Linked DNA regions of Homo sapiens: region 2 is linked to region 1. Evidence: promoter capture Hi-C in human tissues and cell types (Jung and others, 2019). All regions are on one chromosome and are shown on one strand. The core of a region is centred on a gene start or on the middle of the fragment in contact, and the rest is flanking DNA. Distances in the headings are between cores, read along the strand shown. Region 1 holds the start of TAS2R16 (taste 2 receptor member 16). Region 2 overlaps CADPS2 (calcium dependent secretion activator 2).

The links. Contacts are between HindIII fragments. The study calls those that stand out against the background at their distance.
Region 2: a fragment that was not itself captured here is called in contact with the fragment with the promoter of TAS2R16 in region 1 in 1 of the 25 tissues and cell types used here (aorta).

Annotation. Positions count from the first base shown.
Region 1 is chr7:122,990,882-122,998,450 of GRCh38, forward strand. TAS2R16 (taste 2 receptor member 16) reads right to left here and starts at 4,819. Exons shown (of 1, transcript NM_016945.3): 1 at 3,823-4,819. The coding sequence starts at 4,753. The coding sequence ends at 3,878. The HindIII fragment of the contact is 11,039 bases long and covers 3,210-7,569 here.
Region 2 is chr7:122,546,760-122,554,328 of GRCh38, forward strand. The region is part of intron 8 of CADPS2 (calcium dependent secretion activator 2); the gene reads right to left. All of the region lies in intron 3 of LOC105375481 (a long non-coding RNA gene), which reads left to right. Among named protein-coding and RNA genes, the nearest start is that of RNF133, 150 kb to the right of the region's middle. The HindIII fragment of the contact is 6,247 bases long and covers 1-5,984 here.

The DNA of each region.
Region 1 (7,569 bases), core at 3,569-6,068:
CCCCTCCCCCTCCCTCCCTCCCTCCTTCCCTCCCTCCTTCTTTCCTTCCTTCCTTCCTTCCTTCCTTCCTTCCTTCCTTCCTTCCTTCCTTCCTTGCTTTCTTTTGAGACAGTCTTGCTCTGTTTACCAGACTGGAATGCAGTGCCACAGTCTCAGCTCAATGCAACCTCTGCCTCCCAGGTTCATGTGATTCTCCCGCCTCAGCCTCCCGTGTAGCTGGGATTACAGGCGCCACCATCATGCCTAGCTAACTTTTGTATTTTTAGCAGAGACAGGGTTTCACCATGTTAGCCAAGCTGGCCTGGAACTCCTGACTTCATGTGATGTGCCATCCTTGGCCTCCCAAAGTGCTGAGATTACAGGCTTGAGCCACTGCCACCTGGCCACACCACCCTGAATGCACCCGATCTCATCTGGTTTAGCTCTTTCTGAGAAAAGAAATTTGTCTGTTTAATAAGTGGAATGCAATGCACGATACCTGACAAGCAATCTCAGAGAAAATGTAGAGGCATTTCACATCTTACTGATTTTTTTGTCTCCTGTAACAAAGTTATTGAATAGGTTGTGCTCCAAAGAAACAAAGTTTTCTCTGGCTTCTGTGTTCAAAAATATTCCTAGAATGACCCTTTCCCAATTCTTGATGGCATTATAGATTCCATAGCTTTCTAAGAATTTTCTCATGTTTAGACTTTAAAGATTCTAAATCAAACACTAATCTCATATCCAATTAACGGCTTCTTCTCTTCTCCTATCTTAGGCGTGGTGTAGAGGCTGGAGAACAGCAGGGAAGAAAGTGGGGTAAATTCTTTCACTCCCCTATCACGTCCTCTCCCTTCTTCTGTATTGTGTGTGTGTGTGTGTGTGTGTGTGTGTGTGTGAGAGAGAGAGAGAGAAAGTTATCAGGCAACACACTATACTTTTAATAAAAAGCATTATATAGGATAAAGTATTTACAAATTGGACAACACAGGTGCATTAGCTCCTTGGTATCTTAATTTCATATCTAGCTAAAGGAAGCTGTCAAAAAATGTCCTAGCTTTTGGTCACAATCGTTCTGTTATTCTTTTCAAAACATCTTTTTATTTATTTATTTTTGAGATAGAATTTCTCTCTTGTTGCCCAGGCTGGAGGGCAATGGCACGATGTTGGCTCACTGCGACCTCCACCTCCCAGGTTCAAGCAATTCTCCTATCTCAGCCTCCCAAGTAGCTGAGATTACAGGTGCCTGCCACCATGCCTGGCTAATTTTTTTTTTTTTTTTTGTATTTTTAGTAGAGATGGGGTTTCACCGTGTTGGTCAGGCTGCTCTCAAACTCCTGACCTCAGGTGATCTACCCCCCTGGGCCTCCTGAAGTGCTGGGATTACAGGCGTGAGCCACTGTGCCTGGCCAGCATCTGCTTTTTAAATCATATCTTTTTCCAAATTAAATTTTTTCTCATTTAAAATTTATCTCTCGGTTCCCTCTCCTCTTCCATTGACTTCAGATTTGGCATTAATTTAAGTAAATCACTTGACCTTCTTAGGTTTATTTTCCAGCTAGTTTGGATTAGGTGACCTTGATTTGTCTTTTAGTCCAAAATAAGAAAATGTAAGTAAAATCTTTTTGCGAACAATTAGGTGCCATTAATATAAAAGTTAGTTATTATTTCTGTTTGTATTTTATTTTTTTCTGATTTCTGGATCCCCTCAACTGCTTCTAACACTCCTACCTTATGCATAGCCTGGATAAGTTTTCCATTGCACTTTACTCAAAAGAGACAGTGAGAGTACTAAAAATATTTAACAGCTTCTGGAATAGCATCTGTGTGTGTGATTGTGGGGAGAGGGGGTGTTCTTTTTTTCCCGTTCTCTATTTATACACATATGAGAAGAACGGTTTCTATTTATTTCAGCTATCTGAGGTTTTTGAACATGCAAGACCTCATCTGGATGTGGATGCAAATGACAAATAGCAGTAGAATCCTAATTTCACTGGCTCTTGTTCAATCTATTCCAGCAGGATCCCAAACCCTATAAGGCACCTCCCCTCCAGCCTCCTAAGCATTCCTGGGAGTCAACTCAATGCCAATATCTACCTTTTTTTTTTTCCTTTTTTCTTCTCAGACCCATGGTTAGGACTCTGCTCCCCAGTCATTACTGCATCCACCAGGTTTTGTCCCACCTTCTACTGCAGTGAAACCATTGGACCTAGGGAGATGCAAGGCTGACAGGGTGCTTCTGTGGAGTGGGACAGCATGCTTCACTCCCCTCTGTGTGCAACAGTAGGAATGCTGCTGAGATATGCCAAATGGCACAGAGTCTTTGGTAAAAGTGGTCTTTCAGTTTTTACTTATGTTTCACACCTTCAGTTTCAAATATGAATTTGACTCAGAGACAAATCAGAGTGATAAGCCCACAAGCAGATCAGAATTTCCATTCCTTTCCAGGACTAAGCCATTCTTTCACAGTCAAGCTTGAGATACTTGCATCCTTTGCCCCATAGGATGATTTGCTTTCAGGAGGTGTTTCAATCTTCTAACGGCAGAGCTAGAAGATCAGTTCACCAGACATGCCCAATATATACAAAGGGTAGAAAACATCACATTATTTACGCTTGGTACCAGAATGGTGTAAGAGATGCAACTGGCTTTAAGAAGAATACCTTAATAAGTATCTGGGGTGGACAGAGGCTGAGACCCAAAGGCATAGTGGTTGGACATTACCAAGACACATAGCTGCTGGTAGTTGAGGGTGAAGAGGAGATAAATGAGGAGTGAGATGCCTTGGAGATAAGGGCATGGGGTCCTGCAAGGGAAGAAGGTATGAGAGAAACGTGTCAGACAGGGAGGCAGAAAGAACGTCTAAAGAATGAGTATGTTTTATACGTGATTTTTCACTGATTACTGTGTGATTTCTATATTCTTATTCATTTTGGGAGGGCTTTGGACAGAATAAAAAAGTGTAGAAAGTGTAAGCCAACGCCACTCAAATGTTATGAGCTAAGAGTGGTTCTTAACTGATATCTGGGTTGTATATGGGAAATAAAACAACTATGTCTCAACATGGAGATGTTCCATCAAGTTAATAATACAATACAAGTTATAATACAATAGAGAGGCAAGAATTGAGCCAATGGAAACCATTTATAGTTGTATAGTTGACACAATTAAATTGTCAATATTTGGGGAATTATTAAGGATGAATCTGGATTGGGTAAAGTGTCTGCTATTCTGGGGAAGAGTATAATGTTTTGGCTAATGGAAATGAAGAAAGAGTTAAATTTTGACTTGAGTTTTAAAGAGATAAAGACATGGCATTTGGAAGAGAAGCAAATAAGAACATTTGTGTCATCAGATAAAAGTCCAGAAACAGCCAGGGGATAGAGAAAGAGAGAGAGATGGAGAGGGGGAGAGAGAGAGTGAGGGAGAGAGAGAGAGAGAGAGACTCCTTGACTAAAAAAGTGAATTGAAGGCTTAGTATGGGAATCATTCAGGGTACAAGCAATATGTTTCTGTGGGATGGTATTCATATTCATGTGTGAAGTAACTGGCAGTCATGGGAAGGTTAAAGTAATGTGTGGACACCATGATTTTGACTGTCTTGTGTAGAATATACCAGGTGTACAATTCCAGAGTTGGCAAGGACTAAGGAGAGATGGGGCAGTCTTGAGCAAGTTGGAACCAACCTGAGGATTGTGAAAGGGAAAGGAAACCAGTGGAAAAGGATAGAGAAAGGGTTGATTATTTACAAATACATGGCTGCGAAGATGGAAGGGAATGAGGGTTGCATTATGGTGATTCACAATGAATTGATTGATAAGAGCAATACTCTCTTCTGGTATTAATTATATCAATTGCTCGGGAGTCTTTTATCCTGTGCCTCAGGCAACCTCTAGGCCTAGCACTTTCCCTTTAGAATCCTTTTCAACGTAGGGCTGCTCAGCATCAGTGAAGTGGAATGCATTAAGATGAAAGCATAGACAAAAGCTTCCCAGACCCATAACCAACATCTCTTATCAAATAGAGTACCTATAATGGTGATGAGTATGGTTAGAAAGTAAGAGGTAAACACAATAAATAAGACGGCAAGGGACCTCAGGGCAGTGAAGCGCGCTTTCATGCTTGGATTGCAGTGACCAGTGCTATGATGTTGTATCTGCTTGGTCAGTGATGCCATGAGAAAGATGGTGGAGGCCAGGAACAGGATGAAAGGAATAACCAATGCAACTGTATGAGCCTGGAACTGATACTGATGAAAATTTTCAAGTTTGTCAGTTACAGTGCTGTTTCTTGGTAGATGCTCCATGGTGAGTAACTGAATTTGAATGTAATTCCCAATAGCTGAAGGGATGATTGTTACACAAGTAATCATCAGAGAACCCAGTAATATCCAGGGAAACAACCTCAAAATTCTCCACCTCAGCCAGAGAAAGATGTGATGGGTGAAAGAAGAGACCTTGATGCAGTAGAACACGGTAAGCAAGCTGTTTAACCAGAATGTAAGGATATTAAAAAATTCCCAGGTGATTGTTAAGTTGCAAAGTACATAATTCAAATTAAAATAGGAGCAAAAATTGTTCAGCATTGATGCCCACTGTAGACAGAAGCGAGAGATGCCCAGGCTGATGAGAATCATGTCCACAGGCATCAGCCTTCTGACTTGCAGCCATTCTCTGCCCAGCACTGCAACAATTAGGCTGCTCTGCACAATAATTGTCAAGGACTCAAGCACATAGATGATCATGAAGAAGACAGTGAGTTGGATGGGTATCATTCTTCTACTCCAAAGTGTCTTCCTGGACAAAGACTCTGAATCTCTGTACCAATTTCCAGGTAGAGAATGGGTTCCTGATTCCACCACTGTCTGGTACAAGAAAACCCCTCTCTCTGGAAGCAAATTTTCCCAAGCTCATTTTTGATTTTGTCATTTTCCTATCTATAGAATTTGTTTATGCTTTGCTTGCTGGTTTGCTATCACATCTGAATGTAGGGAAATGTTTAAATGTGGATTCCTGCTCCTGAGGTGATTTGATTATTCCAAAAAGGCATATGTATTTCATAACCATGTTGTTTATTTCCTCTTTTTCTGAGGTGCACTTAGCTTATTTCCTTATCTTCTTTAAATGACATCTTCACTCTTTTAACCTAAAATTTGAGCAACAAGAAAGATGAATCCTTCCCTGTTCATTCACGTCCTGCATGATGTTTCTGCTCTGTTGAGTGCAGTACCAAAGCGAACCTCAGAAGCCCTATCTTCCCAGTTCTCATGGCAGCTAGTGGTGGATGCTACAACCAAAGTGTGAGGGTAAATAAAAATGATAATGAAAAGTCTTTCCTCCGAAATTCCACAAAATTGCTGAACCCCAGACCTTCAAGTATTTCCATCCAATGCAGGCCACTCTCATAACTGCCCATTGAATTCCCCCACTTAGAGAAATCAAACTGCAGAGAAAACACTGCACACAGCCTCTCTTAGCTATTGTTCTTCTGCCAATTCCGATGCTTTGAGCATATGCCTTATATATTTTCAGGAATTGTTCTTGTCCCATTAACATCACTGTGTGTTTTTTTTTTTCTCTTACATGGCTAGGTTCTTTTTGTCACTGCTCCCATTGCTCAGGAAGAATTGAAAGAGGACCCTCTTACCACTAGTAAAGCGTATTACTTCTAAATGTGCAGGCATCATTTCATAGCTATACAAGCAGGCTATAAAAGGAATACGTTTTCCTTCAGTTCAGGACAACTCTTCCAAATAGACACCAAATATGTAATAAGTGGCTTCAGAAATGAGAGGTTATTCTAATTGCTAGTTGGTGACAGAGACAAAGTGAAAGTCATTGACCTTATGTATGATAAACTCGGAGTCTGTATGGACTTTTTAGTCATTCAAGGAAGACAACACAGAAGCAAGCAAACATGAATCTTAGAATTCTTGAACACAAAACAAGAAACTACTGAACTCATGAAGCAAAGGTAAGCAATAGCTTGAAAAATTACACCAGAAAACAGAATTAAGTGTAAGAAAGCATCTGCTTTGCATTCTCAATAAAATGCAAGAAACAGGAAATAAAAAACTGAGATGACAAAACAATATATATTATTAAAAGGTGAATTGGTTGAGATGTATCCAGACATAAGAAGGGAGAAAGATGAGATATGAAATGTTGGTATGTGAAACATGCAATAATAGCATTAACCTCTAATTTATGTCCTGAATACACTAAGCATGTTGCCAGCTATATACACTGCCCCATTCTGAGTAAACTTGGAAGGACTGTGATGCTCTCAATCTCTGTCTGAGGGGTTGTGAAAGTGTGGCCACCATACTACACCCCTCATGACTGGATTCCAGCCACAATAGTATGACCAGGAATGAGTTTCTGTCCAAAGCAGCCCCTCATAGACTGGCCTGCTGCATGAGAGATGGCCTGGCACTACTCTACTCCACTGGAGTGTTTTCTATGTGATAGTGGCTGATTAAATAACCCAGATACTCTTTTTGGGAAAGTTTGAAGGTGAGACATACAGAGTGTCCATAGACTGGTGATTGATGTTCCCTGGGGTTAGGAGTTGAGAGTCTGGCTCTTTCATCATGTGTGCATGTGAACCTTCAGGGCCACCTCTGGGGTCTCCTCATTGCAGTGATCCCAATTCTGGTTTGCCTTCTTCCACTCTCCTTTAGCTCACACCCTTTCCCTTATCAGACAGGGGATTGTTGTCCCTTAACTAGTCCTCATTGGTCAGGTGCTGGCAAGGTGACTGAAGCTCAGCTACCTTCTGCAGTGTACATTTGATCTATGGCAAACTCTGGCATTCTTTTCAGTAAAAATGATAAATGGCAGGAGGCCCATGCCTCTCTACTCTGTCATCTCTCCAATTCTCTTTCCCCCTTCTCAGGTAGACATGAGGGAAGGCCCACCAGTTTTTTTCCTAATGTCCCACAGGGAAAAAGAATGCCAATTTATGTTTATAAGCATCTACTATCTTCACTGTTAGAGATTTTGTCTTTTTCTCATTCCTGAGCATACTCCTAGTTTCCTCTAATACTTTATTTACTTCCCCCTGAGGGAGGCAGACTGTTGTATCTTATTTGCAAATTTGATAGGAATAACTTGCCCAATTCTAGACTTTGCTATTATCAAGCAAACATTATATATATACACATATGTTATATATAACATATGTATATATATTAATATATGTATATATAATATATATACATATGTTATATATAATATATAAATGCTTGCTATTATCAAGCAAACATTTTATATTTATATACACATATACATTTTTATATATAAAAATGTATAATACACACATATATACACATATATAATAAATTAAGGGTGTTTCTAGATGGTACTCTTTTTTGATGTGTATGTGTTTGTGTGTTTCATTAAAAAACTTTAAAAACAGGAAAATAAAAGAGCAGGCAATTCGCCAAAGGGTAGACAATAATACCAATTAGTTCATAAAAGGATGCTTAACCTCTCTAGCAATAAGAAAAATACAAATAATACTGAGTAGTTATTTTTCATTTTTCTCATTGCAAAAACAAAATAAAATTTGAATATCAACTCTAAGAGA
Region 2 (7,569 bases), core at 1,611-4,110, 450 kb before region 1:
CATGCTTTTGCTTGCTTAGTCCATTCCTCTCCGTATACAGTCTAGGACTCTTCCTGCCTGTCTCATCATTAAAACACTGGTTCCTTGTATATTTCTCCTCATTCTTGTCAGCTGTTGGGGAAAATATTTTCATGAATTATTTTTGAGCCTATCTAAATGTGAAAAAAAAGTGTACACCAAATAGAATTGACAGAATAAATACTGAAATAAATATAGCATGACTATTCAAATTCAGGGGTCACTGTAGCAGAAAGAAAGCAAATTACTTTTATTTAGTCCATAAAGATAATATGAACGAAGCTCAAATCTAGGGTGTTTTTTTTTTGCCTTTAATTTTTATAAGTATTGGTTACATAATACATCATTCTTACAAATTAAAACATATTAACCCTGGGGTATACTCTACCCACAAGAAATGTTGCTAAAACTTCTTCCTACAGTTCAACCACAGGGATGGTCTAAGAATAAATGTTGACAGGCAACAAGCCTCCCTGCAGACAGTAATTAATTTCAATTTAAAGTTTTGGGGAAATAATATATTTCTTTTTAATACAGTCTTTAGATTTATAGTCAAATTTAAATTTGTGAAAAAAGGAGACTTCCTGTAATTCTTCTGGGGCAATAATGTTTTGAAACACACTCCAACAAATCCACCTTACAGTGGTACCAATTAGATAATTTGAAGTTAATATCCAAACAATCAGTCCACTTACAACTGTGAGCATAATTTCTGCATTCTATTCTTTTCTAAAAAAAATTCATCAATTCAACAAATATTTGTTTAGCTTCTACTAAATACTAGGCAATGTTCTAAAAATTGGGTTTAAAAATAGCAAGTGAGACAAGGTTCCTATTCTATGGCAATCAAATTTAGTTGGGAAGCTAATCAATAGCAAATTACACCATGGCAATAGCATTCTAGTTGAGGATACAGTTAATAAACAATAAATATCACACAGATAATAAGAGCTTAAAAAAAAGAATGAAGCCAGTTAAAAGTAGAATTGGAAGCAGAGAGAGAAGGGTTCTTTGTAGGGTGAACAGGATGGGCTGCTGTAGAGACAGCACCTGATAAGAGACAGAAGAAACAGAGGAAGTGAGTACTATGAGCATTCTAGAGTAGAGCTGGCAAAGGTCTTTAGAATGCTAATTTCAATGACACTAGTCTCTCTCACTGATTCTTTCCACAAAACATTTAATTAGGCTAATTATACAATCACATGAATGTCTTGAGTGTGATGGTAACTACAAAATAAAAGTCATGTAGACAGTAAGTATTGAGTCAGCTGTTTAGGTTTATCAATCCCTCTTCAAATAAAGCAATTTAGCTGGGTGTGGTGGCTCACACTTGTAATCTCAGCACTTTGGGAGGCTGAGGAAGGAGGATCACCTGAGTCCAGGAGTTCAAGAACAGCCTGGGCAATATAGGGAGACCCCATCTCTATAAAAATTTTTTTAAAAAAACTAGTCAGGTATGGTGGCACACACCTGTGGTCCCAGCTACTCACGAGGCTGAGATGGGAGGGTCACTTGAGCCCAGGAGGTGGAGGCTGCAGTGAGCTCTGTTCACACCACTGCACTACAGCCTGGGAGACAGGATAAGACCCTGTCTAAAAAATTTTTTTAAATTAAAATAAAAATGAATCACACATAAAACTATAACTAAAAATAAACAAAAACAACCTGAGATGAAATTAAAACTAACTCACCTGGTATGTAAATCTAATGAGATCAACAATGTATCATAAAACTTGACAAATTTTAATATCACAACTAGCAAGATTTGATAGACTGGTAGAGCTATATGGATCAAATCATACTTATTTAATGATTTAAGCAAGAAAATTACAAGTTAAACTAGCAAATTGTAGTAAAACATACAATGAGCACCACCAGTTATTTAAAAAGTGTTAGACAGCATTAGACTGAAATAAAGTGAAAGTGCTTTCTTATTCCTCTCACTTGCCATGAAATAATCTCCAGATGCTCTTTATTTTTAGAACCTGAGCTTATTTCTTAGATAAATCACTCAAGTCAGTTGCTCAGACATGGTTCAAAGCCCTTATGTAATATTTTCATTTTTCTCCCTTGGACATAGAGAGAAGACAAAATAAAGTTAGCAGAAAAATAAACACACAAAGAGCAACGAACTACCATATCTACATCCATAATAGCTGTCAAATAAAAATGTAAATTAAAGTCTAACAATTAAGCAAAGGACCTAATAGGGATATAACTGTTATACTCTCAATGAATTAATGATGATTTGTACATTTCTATTTTTCTCATTTGTCTTCAAGCATTTTCTTTTGAATAAAGTCAAATGATGTGGTTAAAACTTGAAGAATATCATAAGGCCGAGCACAGTGGCTCACGTCTGTATTTCCAGCACTGTGGGAGGCTGAGGCAGGAGGATCGCTTGAGTGCAGTAGTTTGAGTCCAGCCTGGGCAACATAGCGAAACCCTGTCTCTACCCTGTCTCTAATACAAAAAAATTGGGGATTGATAAACCTAAACAGCTAACTCAATACTTACTGTCTACATGACATTTATTTTGTAGTTACCACTGCACTAATTAATACAAAAAAATCAAGGATTGATAAACCTAAACAGCTGACTCAATACTTACCGTCTACATGACTTTTATTTTGTAGTTACCATCGCACTCAAGACATTCGTGTGATTGTATAATTAGCCTAATTAATACAAAATTTAGCCAGGTGTGGTGGTGCATGCCTGTAGTCTCAGCTACTTGGGAGACTGAAGTGGGAGGACTGCTTAAGCCTAGGAGGTGGAGGTTGCAGTGAGCGGAGATGGTGCCACTGCAATTCAGCCTGGGCGACAGAGTGAGACTCTGTCTTAAAAAAAAAAGATTAGTATTAATTAATATTATTATTATTATTATAGTTCAAGGGACTCAAGTAGGATTTCGGTGAAATCAGGATAAGCCAGGCTGGGCCAAGTTCAACCTGGGAATGCAAGTAGACCTACACATACATACATACATAGGTTCAAGTCAAGGTCAGATGTCGAAACATAGTTATTTTAGACAAGGACACAGGGGAAAGTCATTCTAAAAGGTACATTTAAAAATGAAATATCAATTTGCTTTGTGAAAGAACAGACTTGGCTTTGTTTAAAGCCTGGACTCTTTGAGCAAATACTACCTCGACGCAGCTAAGATTTTCCTCCCCTAAATTAGTTGGAGATCATAAACCCTGAATAATAATCTAAACAATGAAACTTTACTAGAGTGCAGTCATTTCACTTTATGAGGAAATACAATGTCTGAATATTTAGTGTGTGAATGCAGTTTATGTAGGCATGCTGTCCCAACCTCTGGATGCCCAGCTGGCCCTCTCTCTGGGAAATGGTGGGGCCACAAAGCAGCCGGTGTGGGGCTTGTCTCGTTTTTCTGCTGGAAGTTTAACTATTGTCTCTCCTTGCAACAAGAGATGAGCCCAATGCCTTTTCTATCTTTATGATGGAAATTAAACTACAGAGTTTTATCTGTGACAATGTCAAAATATTTTAATCCATCCGTTCATTCAACAAAATGTGTAAATAGCCAAGCATGACTCTACACAAAGAGAAATATGAGATTCATCTCAGAGTAGTTTTGCTAAAATTTTATCTTACCAATTAGAAACTATGATAAAAGTCTTCTATTATAGTTATATAGTTACGAAACTCTATTTTTACTATAAAAGTAATCAGTTGCATGCAGACTTCTCATAGATCATGGTCATAATGCTTCCACATATTTGTGAAAGCCAATTTTCTCTTTTTCAGTTATAGATTTAATTGTCATAACAGTCATTTATTAGTTCCATTTTATTTTACTTTTTTTGGTTGAGAAAGTAACCTTTGAATTAGGAAAATAATTTTATTTAATAAAAACAGGAATAGTTATTTGAGTTTTAAGTTAATACTGTTACTTAGCCACTAGGCTATGCTAAGGTATAGCCCATTTGTTCAAGAACACTTCTATCTTCATGCTACAGACACACACACACACACAAACCAGGAAAATAAATTCAAAAGCTGGATGTGAATCATTTAACCATTCAAAACATAGCTGGTAATTTGTTCAATAGATTTATCTAAGGGTTAGTTTCTATAATTAGTTTAGATGACATATTCCAAAAGAATAAATAAACTCAAGTTTTTGCTAAATATACGTCTTGTGGTAATGCCCAGTTTGGTTTTAAAAGGATGGAATCATAGTTATGCTTATTTGATCCAAATTAAATATCTATTTTCATTTACATGTAGTTAGTCCTACTTAAATAAACTATAATATATAGTCGTGGACTGATTAGTTATCAGAAACATGAGCTTTAGATTGGATGCATTTTACCTTCTGGTTTAAAAAAATAGTCATATTAAAATGCAACATTGAGAACTAAACACCATTTATTTCATTTATTTTAGGCATTTTTTTACATTAAAATTATGTTCTATTCTCAATAAACTGTGTTTAGAATCTTTTAAGGTTCCATTTGTGAATAAAGCTTACTCTCATTTGTATTACTTTTCCCTTAATACTCTAGGGAGCACAATATTACATTTTCACCATCATTATTCACATTAATATCTATCTCTGATTATACACTGTGGGAGGCATTGAGAATTCAAATAGGTCTAAGAAACTTAGAGTACAGTTGAGAACACACAGAAAAATATAAATAACATTGATAAAAATATTTTTTAGGGGCCATAGATAAGTGATAAATGAATAAAACAGAGAATACATGTTACAATAGTTCACGCAAGAAAGATCTATTTGACGTCCACATTATTAAAACAGAGAATAGGTTTTTACTACTGAAGTCCTAAAGATTTCAAAGTCTAAAGTGCTCTGAAGATAAAAATCCATTATCCTCCAATTTATTTTTAATCCACCTAACAACTCTATCTGTAACAGGAGTTTGCTATATTTTAAAGATAAATTAATATTTTTAAAACTTGACTTGTCTCTCAAAATTATTATCCATCTGTTAATTATTGATTATAGGAGAAATGATTGACAAAACACGATCCAGGCCCAAAGCGAAATGCTATTAATCTACTATTCCTGTTATGTTATTGCTTTGGTGTATGATGGAATACTTGGAAGAAAAAGATTAACTTACTTTCTCTTCTTAAATGTAATTAAGTGCAGTAAAATCCATTGATGAAGTACCTCAGAAAAAGACGAATATAGCTATGCTGTAGGTGAAATGTTTGCCAATACATGTTTACACACAGGTGTATTATTCAAAATGTTTAAAACTGTTACCACATGGGTACTGAGAAAACAGAACAGATGCTTAGGTTAAAGCACCTCTAACTGTCCCTGTCCATAGGGAGCAATTACTATTATAGCATTGCTGAAAATGTTTAATTCTTCTAATATTAGTATTAAAATATTTTAATTGAACCACTATTTTGGAATATGATATTCTTAATTCTGCTACATAACACACTATCTTAGCATAACATCATCACAGATAATTTTCAGTTCTAACATTGCTTCAATGTATACATCAGAAACTGAAGAGATATTTAAATATCTGGAAATGCCTGTATCTCTTAGCAATGTTAGATAATTGGGCTATGAGGCATTTCTGGTCCGTGTCCTTCAGTGAGTTCCTGAGCTTTATGGATTAAATTAAGAGACGATGATATATCCTCTTTAGTCTTTTCCTTCACCTTTAGTCTTGGGCAGAAGGCAATTGCAGGCCTTTCTAGGGGTACTGATTTAGTCAAAGAGATGTGATAAAAACATACCCTACCCCCAAATCAAGCCTTGTAAGGGGTCTGGATTGTCTCACCTATCCTGGAGTATGCTAAACCAAGGAACTGCCAGGTAAGAGCAAGGGTTTCTTCCCACTGGAGCTAAAGGTTACAGGACCTGCCCTATGCATGTTCAGTCTTTGTTCTTGAGACAAGCTGAAGGTCCAGGAGTATTCACCATGGCATAGTACTGGCCATGGGTAAATTAGGGTCATCTCGGCACTATGATAGGTTCCTGTTTTTTTTTTTTTTTTTTATTATTGTGCCATTCATCAAAAGAAAAAGGGACTGAGTGAAAAAGGGTAGAGAAACAACTGCAGTTCCTGGAACATACTGTGTTCTTTTATGTGTAACTCTACTAGTCTCTAAGCACTTTAGAGCACTAGCACTCTCTCTAGTCTCAAAGCACTCTATGACAGTTTCACTGAACTTGTCATCATCAGCTAAAACTCCTTCCAGGACTCCCTGCCTTTGTACATGCTGTCATGTAGCTGGAATGCCAGTTCTCCCACTGTCTACCTGATAAATTTATCCTTCAAGTTTTATCTCAAAAGTCAGGTGTCCTGTGAGACTTTCATTCACTATACCTGGCAAAAATCAGGTATTATTTCTCCCAGGTTCCCATTTCTGTCTTACAGCACTTATCACTATCATAATTATTTGCATACAAGTCTGAATTCCTGACTAGCCAGTTCCTATAGGCCTGCAATAATATCACATTAAAGTTTGTCCTAGTTGGAAGACAGTAGTGCTCAATACATGCCTGCTGCATAAATTACTGGTGAGCAGGTAGATGGATGCATGAATTAAATATTAAATCCCAGATACTCCATGTGCATTATAATCTGAGTCATAGTTAGACTTGACTTTACATTACTACATTAAAGATGCATAATGTTGTTTATCCAAATCATGGTTCCATTTCTAAGAGCCCACCCTCTCATGTACTTTTTCCCTTTGGTGAGGTCTGTTCTGACACTGCACATGCTGCCTACTAAACCAAAAAGCAATACAGTCCTTAGCACCATCCCAACTGTAATGTATACCTTGGGTTTCCCCCTGCCCAGAGCCTAACTTTGTTTCCCCTAATGGTCATCTAAAGAATCCTCCTCATTTTTTGAATCATCAGTTCGCTCCACCCTGATGTTAGTGATTGGGCCCTAATGCCAGCAGACTCTGCTTGTTACAAGGATGCACTTTCTTAGACCTCTATGTCTGTTGCTACTAACTCAGGGTAAGCCACTTCAACAACTGCTTTTCTCCATAGTAAGAAAAATGGCCCCTTTTCTTTCCTAATGGCTAATACCCCTATGCTGGGATTTGGCCATAGTAAGTCCAAAGTGTTATTCTGAGGAAGTCCTGGATTTTTGGCAATTCATTTTATTCAAGAGTTCAGACCTGTTTCATCACCAGCTGCAACAGACAAAGAACCTTGGCAGAGATGAAGGCTGACTCTGACCCCTGGTGATCCCCAGGAGACAGTCCCTGCATTTCTTCCCCAGGCAACAGTAGCAGTTTTCTCCAATATTGATTCAATTCTCACTCACATGTTTGGATCAACACTCATATCCCTCTTGTTAAAATGTATATAGCCTCGTTGGGTTACATCTACACTATGTTTTAGTTTTTATACAGTCTATGGAAGTTTAACTATTTCTAGGAACCTCAATGCTAAGCTTGTTTCAACTATTATTGTAATTTGAAGAATGTTTCTTAGAAGGTATCAGTGCCCTGGTGCCCTGTATCAATATGACTGATGAGTAATACTAACACAATCAAGTTCCAATATCG